Linked DNA regions of Homo sapiens: regions 1 and 2 are each linked to region 3. Evidence: promoter capture Hi-C in 16 types of primary human blood cells and fetal thymus (Javierre and others, 2016). All regions are on one chromosome and are shown on one strand. The core of a region is centred on a gene start or on the middle of the fragment in contact, and the rest is flanking DNA. Distances in the headings are between cores, read along the strand shown.

What was found. The method cuts DNA at HindIII sites, captures the fragments that hold promoters and counts their contacts. A CHiCAGO score of 5 or more calls a contact.
Region 1: a fragment that was not itself captured here is called in contact with the fragment with the promoter of DNMBP in region 3 in 1 of 17 cell types (monocytes); the score reaches 5.7 in monocytes.
Region 2: a contact is called between the fragment with the promoter of ENTPD7 here and the fragment with the promoter of DNMBP in region 3, in 1 of 17 cell types (monocytes). The highest score is 7.0, in monocytes.

Annotation. Positions count from the first base shown.
Region 1 is chr10:99,614,598-99,618,997 of GRCh38, forward strand. The region is part of intron 1 of SLC25A28 (solute carrier family 25 member 28); the gene reads right to left. Among named protein-coding and RNA genes, the nearest start is that of SLC25A28, 3.6 kb to the right of the region's middle. The HindIII fragment of the contact is 1,059 bases long and covers 2,070-3,128 here.
Region 2 is chr10:99,657,135-99,661,768 of GRCh38, forward strand. ENTPD7 (ectonucleoside triphosphate diphosphohydrolase 7) reads left to right here and starts at 2,375. Exons shown (of 13, transcript NM_020354.5): 1 at 2,375-2,454; 2 at 2,728-2,830; 3 at 4,312-4,494. The coding sequence starts at 2,823. It also overlaps a transcript of SLC25A28 not described here. RefSeq lists silencers at 2,054-2,263, 2,384-2,603. The HindIII fragment of the contact is 2,116 bases long and covers 1,147-3,262 here.
Region 3 is chr10:100,008,062-100,012,946 of GRCh38, forward strand. It overlaps DNMBP (dynamin binding protein), which reads right to left and starts at 1,886. Exons shown (of 17, transcript NM_015221.4): 1 at 1,777-1,886. RefSeq lists a silencer at 1,659-2,178. The HindIII fragment of the contact is 18,497 bases long and covers 1-4,885 here.

The sequences.
Region 1 (4,400 bases), core at 1,349-3,848, 390 kb before region 3:
TGGCATTAGCAAATAAAATCAGTCTCAGTGAAACATAATCCTTGGAATCTCTCTAAAGGATTTGATGATTGGAATAAAAGCGTAGGGTAGACACTTTGTATGATGTTCTTGGACAAAGTTTTGTTGAAATTTGGGAAATTAATCTTATTCAAAACACCTCCCTAAATTAGACCTTTTCTGAAGAGTGTGTCTCCCCAGGAAAATTTCTCATCTACTGACCCAATTCAAGGTAAAGTAACATGGAAACTAATAGTTAATATAAAATCAATGTCTAAAAAGAAAAATCAATGTCTGGTGCCTGACACACAATAAGCACCTCTGATTTGTTTGCTAAATGAATGAATCTTTTGTCACATAACTGTATCAGCTACAATCACTGGTGAGCCAATGGAAGCAAGTGATGCCCAAGTACAGTTTAAATTTCTGCATCAATCTAATCACTAGATTCTATTTGGATTTAAAAGCTTGAACCTTCGGCCAGGCACGGTGGCTCACGTCTGTAATCCCAGCACTTTGAGAGGCCAAGGCGAGCAGATCACCTGAGGTCAGGAGTTCGAGACCAGCCTAGCCAACATGGTGAAACCCCGTCTCTATTAAAAATACAAAAAAATTAGCCGGGCATGGTGGTGTGCACCTGTAATCCCAGCTACTCAGGAGGCAGGAGAATCGCTTGAACCTGTGAGGCGGAGGTTGTAGTGAGCCTTCGCTGGTTTGAGCCACTGCACGGCAGCCTGGGCAACAAGAGCAAAACTCCATCTCAAAAAAAAAAAAAAAAAAAGCTTGAACCTTCCTCTTGGCCAACTGGAATCCAAGAGTAATACCTTTCCTCAAGAGCATGGGAGAAAAGAAACTAACCAGATGAACAGGTCCCGGTTAGCTGCAAGCAATCCACATTCCTCTGGTTATTTTCTCCTGCCTGCTACCAACAAAAAACCGGAAGCTTAAAAGGTTAGTTACTGGATGTTCAATCAGAAATACTCTACACAGTATCACTTATCACAATTTGACACATTCTTTCCTACTTCCCCCCACAAAACCTCATGTATTTCCAATAAAGGGTTTGTTTACTCATCTTTCACATCACACAAGGCATATAAAATCCATCAGAAGAGTTGTTCATAGAGACTACGGGTCATATGCTGGCTAGAGCTACTAATAAGCAAAGATAAATTGAGCCTCTTAGCTTATCGTGTTTCCATGCATTTATTCAAAACTGATCTTGTATAAGGGGAATGTTCAGCAATTGCATTGCTCTGCTGCAGTCAATGGTGTATTTGGCTACCAATTCTGAACGGTTTGGCTTCGGAGGCCTGGAACTCCTCACCCCCAAGAGAAAACCGGACTGTGGGAAGCTACTTTGAACATTCTATATACACATCTAAATCTAACTCAACAATTCTAACTCGATAAAAGTACACCCTTATGGAGAGGACCTGGGCATAAGCTATGCCAAATATAAAAATGAATATGGCTCCCCAAATTTGTGGGCCAATAAATCTGCCTTTTACAGAAAGATGAAATATCTAAGTAAGAATTTCTGAAAAACCTCAATGTGAAAAACTTCTACCTGGCTTTGGAGAAAAGCCAAACAACCCAGTAGAGAGGTAAGTGGTTTGGTAAAAGACAAGCCACATTTGAGTCAAAAAGCCTGAGTCTGAGCCTCAGCTTTGCTAGTTGTGTGATCTTGGGTATGTCACTTAACCTCTTTAAGCTTCAAAATTGTCATCTATAACATGAGGCCAAGAATGACTGGCTCACAGGGCTGTTGTGGGGATTAAAAGAGATAAGATATGTAAAAGCCATTGGTAATTTATAAGATGCTAGAAATACAAAGATTTTTATTGTATTCAAAATGATTCTATATTTGTTCATATCTAAGAATTTACAGATCATGGTAGCATTGCCTCCTGTATAAGTCATTTCACAAATATACATGGGCAACTAACTGTCCTTAGCCACCAATAAATCAGGGTTAATTTTGTATTTTTTGTTTTCCTTTTAAAGTTTCTCTGTGGCTATAATGATTTACATGTCCCACTATTAATCTGAAGGTCATATGTTCAGGGACAAGCTTTACTGTGAAATTCTGTGCCTTGCCTGGTTCTTGTAATCTGCTTTTGGGAAGCTATATGGAAGGCTTGAGAGTCTGATACACTGAGTTCAAATCATAACTGTGCTACTTAAACTGTGTGACCTTGGACAAGTTATATAACTTCCCTAAGCCTCCTTTCAACTGTAAAATAATGAAAATGGTTTCTACTTCATGAAGTTGCTTCACAGATTAAATGAATAAATGTATGTAAGGTACTTCAGATAGTGCTTGGCACACAAGATCACTGAATACTTATTACTAGATGCAAGAAAATCAAATAAGCTAATGTTTCCATTTCCTAATCTTTCACAGGTGAATATGTATAGATACCATTTACATCTGGAAATTGGAGATTTATCTCCCTCTGCTCTTCCCCTCTTTATTATATAAGTGGATATTTGCTTTACCACTTCAGAGCCAACAACAGCAGCTTGATGATAGGTGGGTACTTCGCCAGAGGATTTTGAGAAGGGTTCTGACTGTTTTGGGTTGCAGAATGTCCCCATAGATAAAGTCTGGCGCTTGCCTTTGAGGCCCAGAAAAGGAAACTGGGATTTATCTGGGCTCCCAAGCCTCTCCATTATAGCCATGGAAATAGCTGGTTGAATAACCATGATCCAGCAAGGCTACACTGACTTCTCATGGTCCCTCTCAAGGATATTTAAAGTCAACTTGACCCTGATAAGTAGCTGAGGATGGACAGGCCTGCATGTCAAAAGGCAATGTCAGCTTTCATTTGCAAACATTGTGGTTGCCCTTTAGGCTCCAACAACATGGATATCTGCCTCCAGTCTTAAAGACTGGGCTGCTTTTCCTCCCCACTCATCCACTTATTAAAAGAAGAAGGATAGCTGCTGGGGACAAGCAAACTGGGAAGTCTTTTCTGAAGGAAGAGATTTGAATTTTACTTTCATGCCTGCACAAAAGTGTTTAACATACTCACTGACACTAAATCATACTGGCCTCACCTAGTTCTTCCCTCTAAGTCATTTAAATCCCAGCATTAAGTGCAAGTGAAAATGAGCCTTCTAAAATAAGCTTTCGTATTGTTGACAACTCCTGAGCATTTTTTTCTCAAATCATTATTTCCTTAATAGAGGGCTTTCAGGCATAACTGCTATGTTGTATGACTAATTTTTAAAAAACAAAAATTCCAAAGTTTATGTAAATGAGTAAGAACTGTTCTTCAAAATAGTTACCTTGGAAGGCTACAATTGACTTATTCCAGCAAAGCTGTGGTTATGCAAAACCTTTCTGGAACTTCTCTTTCAGAGGTGTTTCCTCAACGGGTTTATAGGCCTCAGAAGTAAAGCAGTCTCCTTGCTTTCCAGTCCCACCTTATTTTGATGCCAAGCAGTATTACCCATTTTGACCTCCCACTTTATTCACCATATTTGATTCTGAATAGTCTTTGTTCTTGCAAAATCAATTCCATCTTGTCACAGGGCAAAGATTTGCCTCCCTTAAGGACATGCACCCAAATATTCTAGAAGCATTTTTAACAGGGATTTATAAAATGTTTATAGCAACAATAGCACTATGTAAATATATGGAGTAAGGAGATAACCTCCCGTTCTGTTATAATGGAACAGTGGTTAAATTGATAAGTTACAGTAATATTTCTAAGACAAATTATTACACTGTATTTTTCAAGCCATTACATAATTTTCACTGTTTTCATTGATCTGTTTTCCATTCAATACTCATCCAGAAAAACAGCATCCTAAACCCTGCACTCTACTCACAGTCTAAGTCTAGGGAGGTTACTCTGCAGCTAGATTATATTAACTTTTGGATATACGGCATTATTAACTCACAAGTCATTCAACCTAGAGTCTATACATATAATGTGTGCATCTTTTTTATTTATACTTGTTTTACATTTCAATGTTGTTACTTCTCTCTCATGGATTTTACAGTTTATTTCTATTTCTCCCAATTGACAAGGACATTTAACATTCTAATGTCCATTTTAGTCAAGTGCATTTACCCCGTTTTCAATGGATATGGCCCTTGTTAGGAGTTACCTTGTGTTAAAATACTCCTGCCAGTTTGCTGTCATTCACAAAGCTTAATGAGCGCTCCCCCCATTTCCTTATCCACATTCTAATGAAAAACATGAAACAGTACTGGAACCAAAGGGAAGTAAAAGGGATCTACTTTGCCTTTCCCAAGTTGATTCTCTCCTCCTTTTGAATACATAACACTTTCCTGATTTGAAGAGAAAACATACATCAAAAAGCTGCCAGGTCACTGTTTGACTATTACCCTTCACATGTAAAGGAGGCATCGGTCTTTGTCATATCAA
Region 2 (4,634 bases), core at 1,125-3,624, 350 kb before region 3:
TAAGTTAATATAGTTCATAAACCATAGGAATTAAGTACTATTTTAAAAATAGGAATTATACTTCCACTCAAAAACACCTATTTTGTGGAACACTAAAGTTTGAAATATATATGTATAGAGATTAGACTTAGAACTCACAGAAGGTAAATTCAAGAAATTTTTAAAAATTACTCCAAAACATTATTTTAGTTCTTTCCATATCTATTTTGTTCTAGGAACTGAACTGGGTTCTGAAATAATAAAAATAACTGGTATCTGTATAATGTTGTGGTTAATCCCAACTTTATGCAACTATTCTATTCAATGTGGTTTCTGGGGGTCCAGATAAAATATAACACTTGAAGCAGAGTGGGGATTGAGGGACAGAGAAAAAAAAACTGAGAACTGAGAATTGAAGAAGAAAGGCAAATTAGGAAGTTCAACAAGGTTAGGAGAGTAGTGGAGCCAAAAAAACAATAGTCATGAGAACTGAATATAGAAACTGGACAATGGCTAGATCTTATATGACAATTAGAACTCTGACCCACAACCTCTACAGCAACCAGCCGAGAATAATCAGGACTTGGTCAATGACTCAGTTTCCCTGTTTTTTGCCGCCTCCTTTCTTCAACTCAGAACCCACTAAAGACAGCCAAATATGCTACCTACCCCAAACCAATCACCTAAGAGACACTACTTTTGTTAGCCCACCTCCAGCTTTCCCATGCTAATACCCTCAAGTCAGAGTATACATGAAACCTTCCCTTTTTGTTCACTACTAAGCTTTCCTGGCCAGGTGCAGCTGCTCATCCCTGTAATCCCAGCACTTTGGGAGGCTGAGACAGGAAGACTGCTTGAGCCCAGGAGTTCAAGACCAGCCTGGACAACATAGTGAGACTCCATCTCTACAAAGAATTAAAAAAAAATAAGCTGGGCATGGTGGCACGTGCCTGTAGAGCCAGCTACTCAGGAGGTTGAGGTGGGAGGATCGCTTGCTCAGGAGGTCGAGGCTGCAGTGAACCACGATCGCACCACTGCACTCCAGCCTGGATGACAACAGAGTGAGACCCTGTAGGTAATTAAGTAAGTAAGTAGTTTTCCTAATGTCCTGACAGGCTTTGAGTCGGCCAAATGCAAGTGATGGTGACTGACTCCCTTGTCATAGTAAGCTTTGAATAAATAAAGCATTTGGGTGGTCTTCCTCCCCGATCCCCCCCATTCATTCATTTGCTTATTAATTATACATTAGTTGTGTTTTATCTGCCAGGCAGTGGCCAGTATTGGGAATATGTGGAAGCAAATAGTCCCTGCCTTCAAGGATATTCTGTCTAGTGGGACAGACAGACAGACATATACGTATAATAGTAATTCAACGTGCTAAGTGAAACAATAGGCATGTATAAAAAAGGTGTAGTAGGTCAAGTAGGGCTTTTAGGGGAAGGCGACCCTTAAGATGGGTGGTAAGGGATGAGTAGGAGGTGATTTGGCTAAGAGGCTGGGACGGTTATTCAAGGCAGGTGGAGGGGCAGAATGAGCAAAACAGGACGCGTTGCTGGAGCGTGGTAAGGAAGGCAAGTAGCGGCAGAGGACGGCGGTAGGGCGGATCGTGGGGCGCAATGGATGTGCCACGTTGGAAAGAGCTTGGACTTTATGCCGTCCTCCTGGAAATGAGATAACGGCTGGTGTAAGCAAGAAAGAAACACACACACACCCACGCGCGCGCGTCGTTTCCTTTGTGTTACTGTAAGGTCAAGGAGGGCGGCGACACAGAAATTCATGATGACTGGCATAAGCAGACATTCAATGAATGAATGAATGGACATAAGCACTTTGGTGTAAACGTCATTGTCTTCGATTTCTGTTTTCTCACGGGGCAAGACAGTGAGGTCGGGGCATCAGTTTGGGAGGTGATAGGGAAGGTTTAAGGTGAGAGAACTGCCATTCTGGTAGGGAGGGTCAGTGGGCACAAAACCAACAATAGGTTATGGGCAAGGGATGCGCTTCGGTCGCGAACACCCTGAACCCACCTACCGGAGCTACTCTGTCCCAGGAGCGGCCGTGGAGAAAGCAACCAGCCGAGAGTTCGCGCCCCAGGGAGGGAAGCGGGCACAGGGCCGCCCAGCGCCACTCACCTGTGAGCTCTCCGCGGGCCCTGCAGGCGGAGCCTCGGTACGACGCCTTTCCGATTGGGCGCGGCTCAAAGTCCCGGGGCGGGCATCAGAGGCCGAGCGCTCTAGGGGATTGGCCACCCTGGCGGACGGACGTGCTGCTGACCGAGCTGGTTCGCCCCCGGTTCGGCTCGTGGAGAGCCGGCCCCTCCGTGAGTCTTCTGTCAGTCATTGGCTCCCTGCGGTTTCCTTGGGGACGTGGCGCCGCCGCCGGCCGGGCCCTCCTTCCGGCTGGGCAAGGGGCCGCGGGGAGCAGCTCGGGACTGAACCGAGAGGTGCCGAAGGAACCGGCGGGCCGCTTGATCCCGTGAGTGTGGGCGCGAGAGGGCTGTGGGACCCGGAGGGACGGGGAGAGGAAGCGGGACCCACACCCCGCCACCTGGGGACGACCGGTTCCTAGAGGACAGAGCTGGCCCACGAGAACGCCCCGCTCCCAGGATGCCCGGGTAGGGTCCCCTGGGCCTGAGGAACCAGAGCAGACGGAGCGGGAGCCTGGGGAGGAGGTGGGAGCCGTGGAATTCCCGTGCAGGTTTGTCTCGTGGGCTCAGTCGGACAGAAGCCTGAAATCAAATCTTTCTAGGCTGCAGACGTAGGAGATGCCTGGGACAAGGAGGCCACCTTCTCAGGGCAAAAGAAAAAGAAGGTGACAGGCGTTGAGACCACCGAAGGGAACCCATGGCTAGGTAAGGCTGCACACTTTCCCTCCGGCTGGGAGCACGGCAGAGGATGGCAGGCAGGTTGGGGGGCCCTGGGAGGCTGTCCCAAGTGAGGTTTGCCCTGGAGCTGCACTTGGACTTTGTATTCTGGTTAGTTGGATGCAGAGACGATCAAAGTTGTATTATTTCGAGGGCTGATAAATAATAGTTTCTAGCCCATAGACCAGGAGTGGTAGAGTGAGTCGGCTTGCTCAGCTCTGTAAAGTGCAAGGTTGTAACATTGATTCAGATTCGCATCTGAGCAAGGCTAGGTGCCACTTGAGGAGGTTAAACAAAGAAGTTTTTTTGTTTTTTGTTTGCAGTGAACTTTAAAAGCAGACAGACCGAGGTCCTTTTGAATCAATATACAAAGTGAACTTCACAGATGAATACACTTATCCATACATTATAATAACCTGAAGCTTTTAAAAAATATTAATGTGGATCTACATGCACCAATAAGGGAAAGTTATAAAATAAAGTGGGGGAAAGATGCAGAACAGCAGGTATGGTGGACTACCATTTGTGTAAAACCGAGGGAATGGATACGCACACACACACACACACACACACACACACACACACAGAGATATATTACTGTAAATATATTGGTGTATATTTATGCTTGTGTATCCGTAGAATATCCCTGGAAAGATACACAGCAACGGCCAGGTGCAGTAGCTCACGCCTGTAATCCCAGCACTTTGGGAGGCCAAGGCAGGCAGATCACCTGAGGTCAGGAGTTCAGGACCAGCCTGGCCAAGTAGAAACCCGGTCTCTACTAAAAATACGAAAATTAGCCGGGTGTGGTGGCAGTCACCTGTAATCCCAGCTACTGGGGAGGCTGAGGGAGAAGAATCGCTTGAACCCAGGAGGTGGAGGTTGCAGTGAGCTGAGATTGCGCTACTACACTCCAGCCTGGGCAACAGAGCAAGACTCCATCTCAAAAAAAAAAAAAATTACACAGCAACTGGGTAGTAATGTTTGCCTCTGAGAGATTGTGGGGTCAGGGCAAGAATCACTTTTCACTATACAATATATCCTTTTAAACTGATTTGTCTTTTACTATGTGCTTGTATAATCTGGTAAAACATTTTTAAAATCAGTTAAATAAATTTTCTGACCATCCTGTTTCTTGACAGAATTCTTGGTTGGGAATACTGTAGTTGCTCTGATTCTCCAATGTTATGAGGTTGCCCAGGGAGACTGGTGATCTTTTCACTAACATGAGATTAAGTCTTTGAATTGCACTCAAAGTGCAGTTTGGAAAAAGGGCAGATAAGGCTTTTCTGATATATATAGTAGAAGCACCATGAGCTTCTTCTAAAATTAGAGATGACAAGAACATTTAGACTTCTGTTGGCATGGATTTTTGCCTTTATTAGGAGGGTTTTATCCAATTTTAAAACGATATTTAAGCACTCAGTTGTAGAAATGTTTCAGACTTACTAATGTTTGTCTAATTTCAGGATCAGTTTTTCCTACCTCTGCCCAGCCTCCTGGTACTTCACTGTGCCCACAGTGAGTCCATTTCTCCGTCAGCGGGTGGCATTCCTGGGACTCTTCTTCATATCCTGTCTCCTTTTACTTATGTTAATCATAGACTTTCGACATTGGAGTGCTTCATTACCACGAGATAGGCAATACGAAAGGTGAGTCAGCTTTAGATTTTGGCACTCAAGTCATAAATATTTTCATAAGCTGTTTAACACACTACTGACTTTGACCCTTTTGGGTGATACTGTACTTTTATTAGTAAAATTGCATGCCATTTATTACATAAAGAAGATTT
Region 3 (4,885 bases), core at 636-3,135:
CAACAGAATACTAAACCTAGAAAATAAGCCAAAAGCCAGGCTCGGTGGCTCACGCCTGTAATCCCAGCATTTTGGGAGGCTGAGGCAGGCGGATCACCTGAAGTCAGGAGCCAGAAAAGAGGAAGAGATTGATGGAACGTTGAGGGAAATGCCCTGCCTTGGGGCTGCAAGACAAATAAATAACTGGTGCATATTTAAACAGATCGTTTATGAAGATTATTATTATCTCAGCCAAAAAATACACAATATGAACACTGTATAAAAGTCAATTTATCACATTCTCTGAGTCAGACTGTTCTTGGCTTATTGCAAAAGTTATCAGTGCACTGCACGAACCCCGTTCCCAAGCCAGACTTGAGCTACTCTCCACCCTCCAGAAATCACTCCATTGCAGCCTCTGAATTTAAGTGAATTTAACACGTAAGTATCTGCAATTTGAAAAGTCACTTTTCACTTATTTTAGCCCAACCCTGATAAAGTGACTGAGAGAGCTGAGAATAATGAATTTGAAGATTCGCTATGCCCCATTATGCAGAATTCTAAAAATCTTTTCTTCTTAAAACATTTTTATTATCACAATGAGTGACGTGTTTCAAGTTAACATGTAAAATCGGAGAACTCGAGACAGAAGAGGACCTTAGAGATCCTTTAATTCAATATTTTAGAGAAAAATGGGTAGAGGATAAACTAACTTGCTGATCACCGTGTCGGTATTCATGCTGTGAAAGTAATAAACGGAACACCAACTGAGAAATGATCCCCGAATGCTGTCAGGTACTTCAGTCTTGCAAAAACTACTACAGATTAATCAGTCCTGCTCATCCGTTTAACTCAGCTATGTAAACAAGCAGAGCTAGACTATGCTCAAACCCTAAATATTAGCGTTACCACTCGCCTGCCACATACTACAGCATCATTAGTTATGAAAGTGTTTTAATACAAGATCTTCATGTTTGTGTAAAAGAATTACTATAAAACAGACCTAAAGGCAAGTTACCCATATTCCAGAATAAGTGAGTGCCAAAAATATTCACCCTTCATTACAGTACAAATGAGACAGGCAGTAATAATGAGACTGCATTTAAAGTTGTTTTTGCACTTAAAATTTAAGTCTATACTCCTCATCTGCATCAGGCCCCGGCCTGTTTGGTAACCTCAATATTCCTTTACTAAAGTGACAGCATCACCACCCTTTGAGACACAGATGCCCGGTGGACATCTGTGCCTGCAGCAGGAACGCGGGTGTCCGCGGGTTTCTGCAAAACTCCACCATGACCAAAGCTGCATCTCCAGCTGAACAGGTCTAACCCTTGCTTCGGAAGCCATCTGTCCCTGTCTCCCTGACACAGAATCACGGCCTCCTATGCCGTAAGGCTCCGAACATCTGTAAAATCAGCGGGGTGGACTAACGCAGAATTCTTTTTCCAGCTCTCAAAATTCCGCCTCATTGCCGGAGTGGCAGGGCGGTGCAGAGAAAGAGCCCTGGGCTTGACACCGCTTGAAAAGCCCACGTTCGCATTGCTCTGACCACCCCTCCAACTCCCGGGGACTACAGGAGTGCGAGGGGGCCCGCTGCGCCCCACTGTCCCTCGCGGGCTCCTGGCCCACAGAGCGCAGCACAGCGCCGCCGCTGGGAAAGGGCCGATACAGGCCTAGCCGCGCGGCGCGGCGCGGCGCGTCTCTCGGGGTGCGGGTCCCCTCCGCCCGCGGCCCCGGACCGCGACCCCCGCTCCCCGCCCGGCCCCCGCCCGGCTCCGGCCTGGCCCGGCCTCTGACCTGCTTTCCGCCGCCCGGCGGTCCCTCGGCGCGGCAGGCAGTTGCAGCCGCCAGTCCCCAGCCCGCTGTCACCTCCGCCCCTGGAAGCGGCGGGCGGGTCGATCCCGTGTGAGTCAGCGCGCCGCCCCGCCTCCCGCTCAGGCTTCCGCCTCTGCCGGCGCGGTCCGCGCGGCCCCGGGGGCGCCAAGCTCCGCTGCCCGCGCGCCCACCTCTCCGGCGCCCGCCCCGCGCTCGCGCCCCCTGGCGGCCGGCCCGGCCCTGCTCGCCTCGCGACGTCAGAGGGGCGTCGCTCCCAGAACGGCCACCGGGGAAACTGAGGCACGGGGGCCCGCCCCCGCCGCAGCGCGCCGACACGGCTCGTCGGGCCTCGGCCTCACGCAGTCCTACGTGCAGCCCCGGCTGCGGACAAGTTCCTCCACTCTTGCTGTTCCCCCACTCCCGACACCACCCTCCAACCTAGAAAAAAGTCAAAATTCCATTCAGAGAAGTCCAAGTCGATTCCTGTCTGCGTGTGATGCTGTCCTCTTTGCTACCCCGAGGCAGTTTCCCTTATTATGCCACACAATACTCGCTGGGGTTCGCCTCTATCTGTCCCATTTTTTTCTGAGGAAAGTCTCTCAGGACATCTTTGAGAATTTGAGAGCAAGAAATGACAGAAGCAAGAACTGGGCAGGGCTGTCAGAACTCCTCCTCCGACTCAGTTTCTGAATCCCCGCAGTATTCCCGTTGTTTGTTTAAAGACCACGAAGTTACACAGCTTGGCTATGTTGCTGGAATTGCTGCGCCTCACGTTTCTGGAATCTACCTAGAGGATTCTGAAGAAGGCGGCGAGTCTATGACTGTGCATGCACAACAAAAATAAATATTTCACAAATCTCATCCCATGCTGTATATGTTTCTCCTTCCCTTTGCTTTTTAAAAACTTGTGGTTAAATATATATCACATGAAATTTACCATTTTAATCCTTTTTAAGTGTACAGTTCAGTGGCATTAAGTACATTGACATTGTTCTGCAACCATCACCACCATCCAGCTCCAGAACTTTTTCATCTTCCCAAACTGAAACTGTACCCATTAAACACTAACTCCTCATTCTCCAGCCCCTGGTAACCATCATTCTACTTTCTGTCTCTATGATTACTCTGGATACCTCATATAAGTGGGATCATACAATATTGTCCTTTTGTGAGTGGCTTCTTTCACCTAGCATAATGTCTTCAAGGCTCACCCATGTTGTAGCATGCGTTAGAATATCCTTCCTTTTGAAGGCTGAATAATACTCAATTGTACGTATATAACATCTTTGGTTTATCCCATCTTTCTGTGGACATTTGGGTTGTTTGTACCTTTAGGCTATGGTGAATAATGCTGCAATGAACATGGGTGTACAAATATCTGAGTCCCTACTTTCAATTCTTTTGGGTATATATCCAGAAGAATTGCTGGATCATGTGGTAATTCTGTGTTTAATTTTTTGAGAAGCCACCATACTGTTTTTTTTTCCTTTGCTTTTTGAAGCATGTTAACACTGTAAAGAGAACATTTTGTAGTAAAATATCAACGTTCGGAGAGTCTTTAAAATTCTTAGCAATGCTTCATTTGCCTGTAAAACTGTGACTTTTCGGCGGATCACGAGGTCAAGAGAACGAGACCATCCTGGTCAACATGGTGAAACCCTGTCTCTACTAAAAATAAAAAATTAGCTGGTCATGGTGGTGGGTGCCTGTAGTCCCAGCTACTCGGGAGGCTGAGGCAGGAGAATCGCTTGAACCCGGGAGGTAGAGGTTGCAGTGAGCTGAGATCGCGCCACTGCACTCCAGCGTGGTGACACAGCGAGACTCCGTCTCAAATAAATAAATAAATAAATAAATAAATAAATATTTTAAAACAAGTGACTTTTCTTTCCTCAAGAAAGTAATTAACATTGCAAATCTATTGTCTTTATTTTTGGATAATGTTATTAGCCAAAATAAAAATAACTTATTATTCAGTTTCCTACAATTTTGTTTTCTGTGGATGTAGCTTTCTAAAGTTGTTTGGAGTCAAGTATGCCATATGAAATTCAGATGAAAAATCAAGCATTTCGTTTTATTTATTTTTTTCGCCACGTTGGTCAGGCTGGGCTTGAACTCCTGACCTCAGGTGATCCACCCTCCTCGGCCTCCCAAAGTACTGGGATTACAGGCATGAACCACTGCGCCCAGCCTGGGGATCGGAGTTTTTTGTTTGTTTGTTTTTTTGAGACGGAGTCTCGCTCCGTCTCCCAGGCTTGAGTGCAGCGGCGTGATCTCGGCTCATTGCAAGCTCCGCCTTCTGGGTTCCCGCCATTCTCCTGCCTCAGCCTCCCGAGTAGCTGGTACTGCAGGCGCCCGCCACCACGCCTGGCTAATTTTTTTTTTGTATTTTTGTAGTAGAAACGGACTATCACCGTGTTAGCCAGGATTGTCTCCATCTCCTGACCTTGTGGAGTTTTTAAAGATAATTTGGCTGGTGGGGTCTTGAGAAGTGGGGAGTGCTGATTGGTCAGGTTGGAGATGGAAACATAGGGGGTCAAAATGAGGTTTTCTTGCTGTTTTCTGCTCCTGGGTGCAATGCAGAACTGGTTGAGCCAGATTACCGGTCTGGATGGTGTCAGCAGATCCATCAACTGCAGGGTCTGCAAAATATCTCAAATACTGATCTTAGGTTTTGAAATAGTGATGTTATTCCAGGAGCAATTTGGGAGGTTCAGGCTCTTGGAGTCAGAGGCTGCATGACCCCTAAACTGTAATTTTTTTTTTTTTTTTTTTTTTTGAGACGGAGTCTTAGTCTACCGCCCAGGCTGGAGTGCAGGGGTGCAATCTCAGCTCACTGCAACCTCCACCTCCCGAGTTGAAGCGATTCTCGTGCCTCAGCCTCCCTAGTAGCTGAAATTACAAGCATGCACCACCACGTCCAGCTAATTTTTGTATTTTTAGTAGAGATGAGGTTTCACATTGTTGGCCAGGCTGGTCTCAAACTCCTGGCCTCAAGTGATCCATCCACCTCAGTCTCCCAAAGTTCTGGGATTACAGGTGTGAGCCACCACTCCCGGCCTTAAACTGTAATTTCTAATCTTGTAGCTAATTT